Linked DNA regions of Homo sapiens: region 2 is linked to region 1. Evidence: promoter capture Hi-C in 16 types of primary human blood cells and fetal thymus (Javierre and others, 2016). All regions are on one chromosome and are shown on one strand. Each heading gives the region's core, a stretch centred on a gene start or on the middle of the fragment in contact. The rest is flanking DNA. Distances are from core to core; before and after follow the strand shown.

Evidence for each region. The method cuts DNA at HindIII sites, captures the fragments that hold promoters and counts their contacts. A CHiCAGO score of 5 or more calls a contact.
Region 2: a fragment that was not itself captured here is called in contact with the fragment with the promoter of TRMT1L in region 1 in 7 of 17 cell types (total B cells, non-activated CD4 T cells, naive B cells and 4 more); the score reaches 8.4 in total B cells.

What each region holds. Positions count from the first base shown.
Region 1 is chr1:185,153,870-185,159,818 of GRCh38, forward strand. It overlaps TRMT1L (tRNA methyltransferase 1L), which reads right to left and starts at 3,084. Exons shown (of 15, transcript NM_030934.5): 1 at 2,609-3,084. The coding sequence starts at 2,843. It overlaps SWT1 (SWT1 RNA endoribonuclease homolog), which reads left to right and starts at 3,298. Exons shown (of 19, transcript NM_017673.7): 1 at 3,298-3,445. RefSeq lists enhancers at 2,172-3,077, 2,921-3,030 and silencers at 2,581-2,830, 3,571-3,690. The HindIII fragment of the contact is 11,948 bases long and covers 1-5,949 here.
Region 2 is chr1:185,705,127-185,711,075 of GRCh38, forward strand. No RefSeq gene overlaps it. Among named protein-coding and RNA genes, the nearest start is that of HMCN1, 26 kb to the right of the region's middle. The HindIII fragment of the contact is 3,266 bases long and covers 926-4,191 here.

The DNA.
Region 1 (5,949 bases), core at 1,834-4,333:
TCAATTCTTGATATTAGCACCTTCTTGACTACTCCTCTCCGAGCTTCACTATCAGTTCGTTTACCCATTTGTATAATTTGTGTCCTTGTTCGCTTTCCCCACAAATAATCAACAGAAGACAAGGCCTATTTCTTGTTCATCTTTCTGATGGCTAAGTGCCTAATGCAGTAGCTTGCAGATAGGAGGCACTAAAGTTTGTTAAACAAGAAGTTAAAAAAATTGTTAGACTTTTTGGATGCAGTAGCACACTGTGTCAATAATTTTGGAATCCAATTCAGCACTATCAGACACTCCTGCTCAAATTTATTAAAAGGTAATTTTTCATATTATTATTATTTAAAGATGGGTCTTGCTCTGTCACCCAGCCTCCATGGAATGTAGTGGCTCAATCATAGCTCACTGCAGCCTCAAACTCCTGGGCTCAAGCAATCCTCCTGCCTCAGCCTCCTGAGTAGCTGGGAGTATAGGCTGGTGCCTGGTTATTCACCTCATTTTTAAAGAAGCAACAAACAATATTGGTTAATTTCCTATATCAGATACTGGTCAAATGAGTTATAATGAGATATAATTTCTATAAACAGGTAAAACTTCTTCATGTTTCATAAAAATCTTTTGCTAGGTCAGACAGCAATATTCCAGAAATGAATCCATGTGTACAAACTAACCTATCTAATTTGTAACCATAAAGGCTTTTGGTTCCAGAGTTCAAAGATCTGTGTATGTAAAACAAGATAAACAGCAATCAATAAAGACGTGCCTATTGAAATTATTCTATTAAATAGCACAAAATAAGAGAAAGGAGCTTGGTTAAGTTAGAAAACTAAAAATCCTGTGGTCTACTACTGAAGAAACTCTTGAAGATCTGTTTAAAAATGCATGATATGCCTATAAACATCTCTGAAATCACCTTCTGGTTTAAGATAGTGCGTATCAGACAATCTGTATGCAAAATACTCAATCTGCTTTTTGTAACACACTATTAATCCAGAAGTCAACAGGCAAACTTCTTGTTAAATTAGATGTCTCCAAGATGCTAGGAGGGTCTTTTACAACTTATTCTATTACTTTTTCCTCAATTTTCAATTCTATTTCAGATAGGCTATCTTCATCTTACCTAGTTATGACTGATTTCAAAGGACTAACTAGATCAACTAAAAATAATGTTTAAAATGTGATTAATATATGTATTAGTTCTAATGCATTTCAGACTTCTCAATCATTACATATTTGTCCTACTAATGCATTTTCAGTTTCCCATATAGTATACCTTCTTCAAATTACATATTTGTAAATTTTGGAATATATAGATAAGTCTTTTCTATGTTTAACATATTTTTGATGGTGAGGAGGTAGAGAATGCATGCATTTCCCAAAGCTGCTGAACCACTTCTGACTAATATAAACAAATACAACTTCGAAGTGAGGTAGGAGGCTACTTAGGAGGGTGGAACCCTCTCAGCTCCCCATGCCTCCCCGATCCCTACCCACTGTAGTTGAAGAAACAACTGGCCTTATTTTGTACCTACAAGCTCTGATCTTATATAATGAGAAGGGGCTTACCTGAAGCATTCTGACTTTTGTCTTTCCTGTGATTAGCCCTACTCTGAAATCTATAACAATTTGTATGTTGTTTCAAAACTGCAAAATAATCCTATCTATAACTATCTAACCTTTTATAAATATTAAACTCAAAACTGGCCTAGAAGTAGAAAAAATAATGAATTAAAGATTATTTTAAGTTCCAATTCAGAAAGCACATAAAGGTCAACTTATGACCACAAACTAAATGTTAAAAGAACTTAAATTATGTCTTTCTTAGACCTTACATTTTAAAATGTTAGAAGATCCTTAAGAAAGTGTTACTCATCAGTCTTTTAAATTCCTATATGGTCCAATAAACCACCACTTAGAAAACATGCAGGCACATTCAGAAGCACAATAATATGGGCCATTAATTCTCAACAGTCTATTTCTGATGGAATGGAGTACAAAACTCAATTGGTATTTATGTATGGGGGAAAACATCCGTAAATTTAGTCGACTCTTTCCTAAACTACTACTCAGCCTCAAAATCTTTTCGGAGGCAAGCTGCTAGCGGGGGAAAAGAAAACTGAAATGAGAAAAACTCATCTCCTTGTGGCTGTCGAAGCAGAAAAGCTAGTTGACAGTAATGGTTTAGAAATGTTGGCAGCTAGGATCTACTACCGTAAACAGGTTGCCTCGGTTACTATGTCACATTTGAAAGAACTTAGTTAACCATGGCAGACTGGACTGCGGGAAACTACCAAATTATGTGTAACTTCCTATTTTTGTACCTTAAAAAGACTCCCTTTTAAGAAAAAGCCCTTAACCTCATTATTTCCTTCTATCTGCAGCATTCCTGCTCTCCGCATATCCCTCACCGTGACATCCTCGAGGCTTATGAAGATGCCGTCTCCCATTCTGTAACCCTGCTTTAGCCGCTACACGGGCCCCTCTTTCCTCCCCACCATTTTCCTAAACCTGCCTTGCCCCATAAAAACCATCCCGGTGAAGGGCCTCCCCTACTTCCCAGCAAGGCGCACTTTCTCTCTTCTGCAGCAGAAAGATCTGGGCCTTCTGCACTTACTGCTTTTAGCCTCCTCAGGGGCAGAGGCTAGGGACGGGGACAGGGCCGGAGCCTGGGCCAGGGCAGGGGCTGGGGCTGGAGCCGAGGCCGGAGTCGGAGCCGAGTCCAGAGCCGAATCCGGGGCCGGAGCTGGGACCCCAGCCGAGTCCCGGGCCGGGGTCGGGACCTGGACCTGGGCCACCTCCACCTCCTCCTTCTCCAGGGGCAGCAGCTCCTCCTCCGCCATATTCTCCATAGTTACCGCCTCCGTGCCAAGCCCGCCCGGGGACCCGGAGCGGGGCTCACGGCGGGGTCAGAGAACTGACGTGAATGCCCACAGGGCTGGATCCAAGGAGTGGGGAAGCAAGTGGGGAGGGCGGGATGCGTGCAACAGACAAAAGATGAAGAACCAGTGACCAAATCCTGTTAGTAGAAAACAGAAAGCCAGAGGCAGCGATTCCAGATGCCCGTCCGCTTCCCTTTCCCCGAGGCGTTACGACGCCACCACAAACTGCGCAGAAGCGTACTGGGGACGGCGTCCAATTGGGTAAGAGGGTTCGGTTTCTACGGTGCGTCTCCGGCCCACCGGCCAACCACCAAACCGAACAAAGACTACAGCACCCAGGATACACTGCGCAGTCTGGGGGCGGGGCCGGAGTTCAAGCCTCGGAGGAAGTAAATGCAAATCTAAGCGAGCGCTGTGGGGCGGTGAGTAGGTAGTGCGGATGCGGGCGCAGAACTACGTTTCCCAGCAGGCATACAGTTGGTGGGGCGGGGTGTGTGTGTGTGTTGGGAGGCGGGGGTCCCTCTCCTTTGGCTTGGGGCTCCGGAGTTGCCACTGCCGCCGGCGCTGGTAAGGTAGGAACTGCGGGGTGCGTTGACGTTTTGCTGGGCAGGTTCCCCCTCGTCCCCCGCCCCAAGTATACTGGCGGGCGGGCGGCCGGCCGGACTGGGGACTCAGGAGTCACACGGACCTGGGCGGGGCGACTCTGTGGGCGGGTCCGGGGACGAGCCAGCTCCGTGGAGGGTGTGGTTCTGGCCCGGCTTGCCTCCGGGGCTGCCCCTTGCCCGGTGTTGGGGTCTGGTCGGTTCGTGCGGAGCCCGCGGGCCCGCGGCGGTTTACTAGCAGCTGACGAGCTTGCCTGTCCATCCAGCTGACTTGGAATTAGGGTCTGTTCTTCATTTCGCACCCTCACCTACACCGTGACCCGAACACTCTTTTCCTTTGTTTTTATTTTTGCTTTAGTCTTCATGTTGCCAGTATCAGCAGTTCTGCGGTGTGGCCAGTGGATAGAAATTAGTTGTTTTGCTCTATTTTGCTTTGTTTTCAGGCTTTTAATAACCAGAGCTCTGAGTGGGTAGAGCTTCGGGGCATTTAATTTTGATGCGTTTCAGATCCCCAAAACATATGCTAGCGAGTCCCCTGTCCCCCGTACTTCTCTCCCCTTCACTCTTAGTGCCTACTTGACATTCGAGCCTTTCTTGTTTCTTTCTTCTGTCCCCCCGCGATAAATCCACTGGGACAGAAAGGAGAAAAACGTGAACTTTCTGGCTGCCCTGCTTGGGCTTGGTCCGAACCTTCTAGGCATCAGGGCAGGAGAGGGAAGCCCAATTTAGTCTCAAGAACAAGACGCGCGCTTCCAGTTAGCTTTTCTTAGTTAATTAAGTTGATAAACGCCAATCTTCTTGGTCTATTTGTTTCCTACTTGTTTCAGAACCCCGGGGAAGAGATAGCATGATTATTTGGCACTTTGAAGCACTAACTGGAAATTAACTCCTCCCCCTATAGTTAAGAAGTATATATCTGGAGGGGTGTGTGTGTGTGTTTAACCTCTCCCCAGTTTAATGGGAACAGATTATCCCTGTGGAGCTTCTGTGAGTTATAGTCCTAAATCCCTTTTACTGATCGTCCCGTACAGCTTTTATCTAGTATTCCTGAATGTGTAGTTGACTCATGGCTCAACAGTCAATTAAAAATGGGATAACACTGACTATAACTTACAGAAATGCTAACTATATCTGTGCATCATCCAATAATTCTTGTTCTCATTTCTTTTTTTTTTTTTTACTGTCGTTCATGATGATTTTTTATTTCTAAATGACTAGATGGTTAACTGAAAGCTAGATTCAGTATGTTAATGTCATTTAACACCAGCTGGAAACCAGATTAAAAGGGTCAGATTTTAGTGTCTGGATTCTGTGGGAATTTTTGTAAGAATTTCTAAGCATGGTCTGTGCTTGTAAGACATCCTGAAGAAGGAATCGTCAATGTTTGAAGAATTAAATAATGTTATTCATCTATTGCTACTGCATAAGTTATACCAAAACATAGTAGCTTAAAACAACAGTAAACATTTATTACTCCACAGTTTCTGTGGGTCAGGAACTCAGAAATGACTTTCTGGGTTGATCTGGCTTTGGGTCTCCTGAGGTTGCAGTGAAGATATGTGCCAGGGCTGCTGTCATGTCACTTGATTAGGGGTGCAGGATCATCAGCTTCAAAGGTAACACACTCACATGCCTGGCTGTTAGTTGGTTCTGGTTGTTGGCAAGATGCCAGTAGTTCTTCCCTTGCGAGCCTTTCCATGGGCTGTTTGAGTGTCCTCATGACACTCTGACTTTCCCTAGAGTGAGCAGTCCAAGACAGAACAAGGCAGACGTCATGATATCTTATATGATTTAGCCACATACCACTATGTAGCAGTAATATCTTATTGATTACACAGGTCAGCCTTATTCATTGTGGTAGCAGATTACATTAAGTGCATGATTACCAAGCATCAGGAATCATCAGGAGCCATCTTGAAGACTGGCCAGCACATGAAGTCTCCCCTCATTTATGTTTTGATTTGCATAAAATCAATAGGAATTTCACACTAGTATGAATATACAACATTTGTCCGAATAAACATAAACATAAGTGTTTTTCTGGGATAGTCCACAATACTGTCATCCACTAACAGTATTGACTTGGTCCACAGCAGGGCTGGAAAAGTGAGACGGGGATGGGAGGTGGACAGAGGAACTACAGTGAGTGAATTGGAAGTGGTTCAGAATGAAAGAGTTAATATTCCAAGGAAGAAGAATTCACTCATTTATTCACTCAGTAGGCATTTATGAGCACCTAAGTTTTTAATACGGCACACTCAAGGAGCTCAGTGTCTAGTAGAAAGACAACCATACAAGCAAGTATGTATGTAGACATTACTGTGTACCAACCTATGCAAGATGTATATGTACATATATATATGTATTTTAATATTTTTTTATATTTTTTTAAATTTTTGAGATGGAGTTTCGCACTTGTCACCCAGGCTGGAGTGCAGTGGCACAATCTTACTCACTACAACCTCTGCCTCCCA
Region 2 (5,949 bases), core at 1,309-3,808, 550 kb after region 1:
ATTGGAAGAACTTGCAATCTACTTTTTTGTTTCTTCCTTTTTTCAATTTTGGATGCGTTTCCTTATCAGGGCATTTAATACATTTAAAAAATTAATTATGTGCTTTTTTACGAACATAGGCATTATATAAATATGTAATAACCATCTGGGGAAAATCAAATTATTAGATAAAAATAAGAGTTGTATACAGAATGACAAGTACTTAGAGGAATCCTTTGAGATGAGGTAATATGGACTGAAGCCCCCCTTGGATTTACTGCTACTATTTATTGAATGCTTACTATGTGTTGGTTGTCACATTAGGTGCTTTATAAACACTATCTCTAATGACTTTGAAAATAATTCTTTAATGATAACTGAAGAGCTGGGAGTCAGATAACTTCCTGAGGTCATACAGTTACTGAGTATAACAGCCATGGCCCAAACTCTGACTGTTGAGCTCTAAAGCTTGTGCTAACTTCTGTGCTCTGCCTCTTCTCACCATATCACTACAGGGGTAAGAATCTTACAATTTTGCATATTTAATTTTAAGCATAAATATTGACCCCTAATACTTGTTTCAGTATCAAACCTGGAGCTGATATTTAATGGAGATTTACTGATTGCTAGACACCGTGCTAGTGCCTTGCCCTAGCTGTCATATTTAATCATCCCAACAACCCCATGAGGGGGATCAAAAAGCACTATTAGTTGCAGGTTATGACAAAACACAATAACATTTAACTAAAGCACTATTTACTATATTTAAAAATTCTCCAAGTATCTTGTGTCATGTTGTATCTATAAAAGAGAGTCTCTTTCTCTCTCATAGTTTACAATTCAAGAGAGACTCTGTAAAAGTGAGAACATATTGACATACATAAAACTATGTAAACATGAAACAGAAACATAGATTAAACAGAGATGTAGATCATGTACCATTAAAAGCTTTCCTAAAACATTGTGAACGTTTCATAGAAAAAAAATGTATCAATGGTACCTTCTATCTTTTGGGAAATCATGAGCTTGCTTTATTATGATAGTGCAGAGAATAGTTGAATAATTTGGACTCTATGACTCTCAGCCCTAAATTCAGAAAGTGTAGTTATATACCCCAGTGTTTTTTATTTTTTTAAAAAAACCTCTAGGCAGGAGATATTTTGGTAGGACACAAGACCACAAATTTGTCATACTATTCATATTTTATTTTCTATTTTTACTATAGTGGATAATCCCCAAATAACTATTATGGAGTTAATCTATCACCATCTCCTTCCTATATCTTTTCTGAGGGAAGGTTGGAATTAATGGATGAAGATATGTAGACATCTATGGTGTTCTGGGAAGCTGAGCATGTCTGATATAAGGCATGTGAGGTTTAAATGCATGCATGTGTTAGATATGTTGTCTAGCCTTTCTAGCCCACTAACTATAAACTACATATCTATCTTATGTATCTATTGGTGTGGAAACTTTACTGTATGGGAATTTGGAGAATCTTAGAGTCAGGAGAGATCTTTAGAGATCATCACATCCAAATGCTTTTTCGAAGAAGATATTTGTTTCACACCATTGCTGATGTACAGTTGTCCATTCAGTCATAGAGAACTAGCTATCCCTCCTTGGGCTCTTTATGACTTACAGTATATTTGTTTCCGGGAGCTGCCATAACAAATTCCCACAAACTGGGTGACTTAGAACAACAGAAATTTATTATCTCACAGTTCTGGAGGCTAGAAGTTTGAAATCAAGGTGTTGGTAGGGCCACGTTACCTTGAAAGCCTCTAGGGGAGGATCTTTCCTTGCTTCTTCAAACTTCTGATAGCCCCAGGTTTTCCCTAGTTTATGGCAGCATAACTCCAATCTCTGCCTCCCTCTCTACAGAGCGTTCTTCCTGTGTGTCTACCTCTTCACATGGTCATCTTTTCCTCTCATAAGAACATCTGTCATATTGAATTAAGGGCCCACCCTAATGACCTCCTCTTAATTTGTTTACATCTGCAAAGATTTTATTTCCACATAAGGTCACATTACAGGAACCACAGGTTAGGGCTGCAACATATGCTTTTGGAGGTCACAATTCAACCCATAACGCTCAGTATAACCAGAAGAGCTAAGTGGAGACTGGCTTAACCTCCTAGCCTTACATCTTTCTCTCATGCTGGATGCTTCCTGCCCTGGAACATCAGACTCCAGGTTCTTCAGCTTTTGGGACTCAGACTGGCTACCTTGGCCTATTGTGGGACCTTGTGATCATTCGGATTCAGGGCAAGGGGAGGCTGAACAAAAAAAAAGATGGCCAAATAGGAACAGCTCCAGTCTACAGCTCCCAGCATGAGTGATGCAGAAGACAGGTGATTTCTGCATTTCCATCTGAGCTACCGGGTTCATCTCACTAGGGAGTGCCAGACAGTGGGCACAGGACAGTGGGTGCAGTGTACCCTGCGCAAGCCGAAACAGGGCGAGGCATTGCCTCACTCGGGAAGTGCAAGGGGTCAGGGAGTTCCCTTTCCTAGTCAAAGAAAGGGGTGACAGACGGCACCTGGAAAATCGGGTCACTCTCACCCTAATACTGCGCTTTTCCGACGGGCTTAAAAAACGGCGCACCAGGAGATTATATGCCGCACATGGCTCGGAGGGTCCTACGCCCACGGAGCCTCGCTGATTGCTAGCACAGCAGTCTGAGACCAAACTGCAAGGTGGCAGCGAGGCTGGGGGAGGGGTGCCTGCCATTGCCCAGGCTTGCTTAGGTAAACAAAACAGCCAGGAAGATCGAACTGGGTGGAGCCCACCACAGCTCAAGGAGGCCTGCCTGCCTCTGTAGGCTCCACTTCTGGGGCCAGGGCACAGACAAACAAAAAGACAGCAGTAACCTCTGCAGACTTAAATGTCCCTGTCTGACAGCTTTGAAGAGAGCAGTGGTTCTCCCAGCACGCAGCTGGAGATCTGAGAACCGGCAGACTGCCTCCTCAAGTGGGTCCCTGACCCCTGGCCCCCGAGCAGCCTAACTGGGAGGCACCCCCCAGTAGGGACAGACTGACACCTCACATGGCGGGGTACTCCTCTAAGACAAAACTTCCAGAGGAACGATCAGACAGCAGCATTCGCGGTTCACAAAAATCCGCTGTTCTGCAGCCACCGCTGCTGATACCCAGGCAAAAGGGTCTGGAGTGGACCTCTAGCAAACTCCAACAGACCTGCAGCTGAGGGTCCTGTCTGTTAGAAGGAAAAGTAACAAACAGAAAGGACATCCACACCAAAAACCCATCTGTACATCACCATCATCAAAGACCACAAAGTAGATAAAACCACAAAGATGGGGAAAAAGCAGAGCAGAAAAACTGGAAACTCTAAAAAGCAGAGCACCTCTCCTCCCCCAAAGGAACGCAGTTCCTCACCAGGAACAGAACAAACCTGGATGGAGAATGACTTTGATGAGTTGAGAGAAGAAGGCTTCAGACGATCAAACTACTCCGAGCTACGGGAGTACATTCAAACCAAAGGCAAAGAAGTTAAAAACTTTGAAAAAAATTTAGATGAATGTATAACTAGAATAACCAATATAGAGAAGTGCTTAAAGGAGCTGATGGAGCTGAAAGCCAAGGCTTGAGAACTACGTGAAGAATGCAGAAGCCTCAGTAGCCGATGCAATAAACTGGAAGAAAGAGTATTAGTGATGGAAGATGAAATGAGTGAAATGAAGCGAGAAGGGAAGTTTAGAGAAAAAAGAATAAAAAGAAATGAAAAAAGCCTCCAAGAAATATGGGACTATGTGAAAAGACCAAATCTACATCTGATTGGTGTACCTGAAAGTGACGGGGAGAATGGAACCAAGTTGGAAAACACTCTGCAGGATATTATCCAGGAGAACTTCCCCAATCTAGCAAGGCAGGCCAACATTCAGATTCAGGAAATACAGAGAACGCCACAAAGATACTCCTCAAGAAGAGCAACTCCAAGACACATAATTGTCAGATTCACCAAAGTTGAAATGAAGGAAAAAATGTTTTCCTTCATTTCAAGCCAGAGAGAAAGGTGGGATTTCTCCTTCAAGCCAGAGAGAAAGGTCGGGTTACCCTCAAAGGGAAGCCCATCAGACTAACAGCAGATCTCTCAGCAGAAACTCTACAAGCCAGAAGAGAGTGGGGGCCAATATTCAACTTTCTTAAAGAAAAGAATTTTCAACCCAGAATTTCATATCCAGCCAAACTAAGCTTCATAAGTGAAGGAGAAATAAAATACTTTACAGACAAGCAAATGCTGAGAGATTTTGTCACCACCAGCCCTGCCCTAAAAGAGCTCCTGAAGGAAGCACTAAACATGAAAGGAACAACCGGTACCAGCCGCTGCAAAATCATGCCAAAATGTAAAGAACATCGAGACTAGCAAGAAACTGCATCAACTAATGAGCAAAATAACCAGCTAACATCATAATGACAGGATCAAATTCACACATAACAATATTAACTTTAAATGTAAATGGACTAAATGCTCCAATTAAAAGACACAGACTGGCAAATTGGATAAACAGTCAAGACCCATCAGTGTGCTTTATTCAGGAAACCCATCTCACGTGCAGAGGCACACATAGGCTCAAAATAAAAGGATGGAGGAAGATCTACCAAGCAAATGGAAAACAAAAAAAGGCAGGGGTTGCAATCCTAGTCTCTGATAAAACAGACTTTAAACCAACAAAGATCAAAAGAGACAAAGAAGGCCATTACATAATGGTAAAGGGATCAATTCAACAAGAAGAGCTAACTATCCTAAATATATATGCACCCAATACATGAGCACCCAGATTCATAAAGCAAGTCCTTAGAGACCTACAAAGTGACTTAGACTCCCACACATTAATAATGGGAGACTTTAACACCCCACTGTAAACATTAGACAGATCAACGAGACAGAAAGTCAACAAGGATACCCAGGAATTGAACTCAGCTCTGCACCAAGCAGACCTAATAGACATCTACAGAACTCTCCACCCCAAATCAACAGAATATACATTTTTTTTCAGCACCACACTACACCTATTCCAAAATTGACCACATAGTTGGAAGTAAAGCTCTCCTCAGCAAATGTAAAAGAAAGAAATTATAACAAACTGTCCGTCAGACCACAGTGCAATGAAACTAGAACTCAGGATTAAGAAACTCACCCAAAACTGCTCCACTACATGGAAACTGAACAACCTGCTCCTGAATGACTACTGGGTACATAACGAAATGAAGGCAGAAATAAAGAGGTTCTTTGAAACCAACGAGAACAAAGACACAACATACCAGAATCTCTGGGACACATTCAAAGCAGTGTGTAGAGGGAAATTTATAGCACTAAATGCCCACAAGAGAAAGCAGGAAAGATCCAAAATTGACACCCTAACATCACAACTAAAAGAACTAGAAAAGCAAGAGCAAACACATTCAAAAGCTAGCAGAAGGCAAAAAATAACTAAAATCAGAGCAGAACTGAAGGAAATAGAGACACAAAAAACCCTTCAAAAAATTAATGAATCCAGGAGCTGGTTTTTTGAAAGGATCAACAAAATTGATAGACTGCTAGCAAGACTAATAAAGAAAAAAAGAGAGAAGAATCAAATAGACGCAATAAAAAATGATAAAGGGGATATCACCACCGATCCCACAGAAATACAAACTACCATCAGAGAATACTACAAACACCTCTATGCAAATAAACTAGAAAATCTAGAAGAAATGGATAAATTCCTCGACACATACACCCTCCCAAGACTAAACCAGGATGAAGTTGAATCTCTGAATAGACCAATAACAGGATCTGAAATTGTGGCAATAATCAATAGCTTACCAACAAAAAAGAGTCCAGGACCAGATGGATTCACAGCCGAATTCTACCAGAGGTACAAGGAGGAACTGATACCATTCCTTCTGAAACTATTCCAATCAATAGAAAAAGAGGGAAACCTCCCTAACTCATTTTATGAGGCCA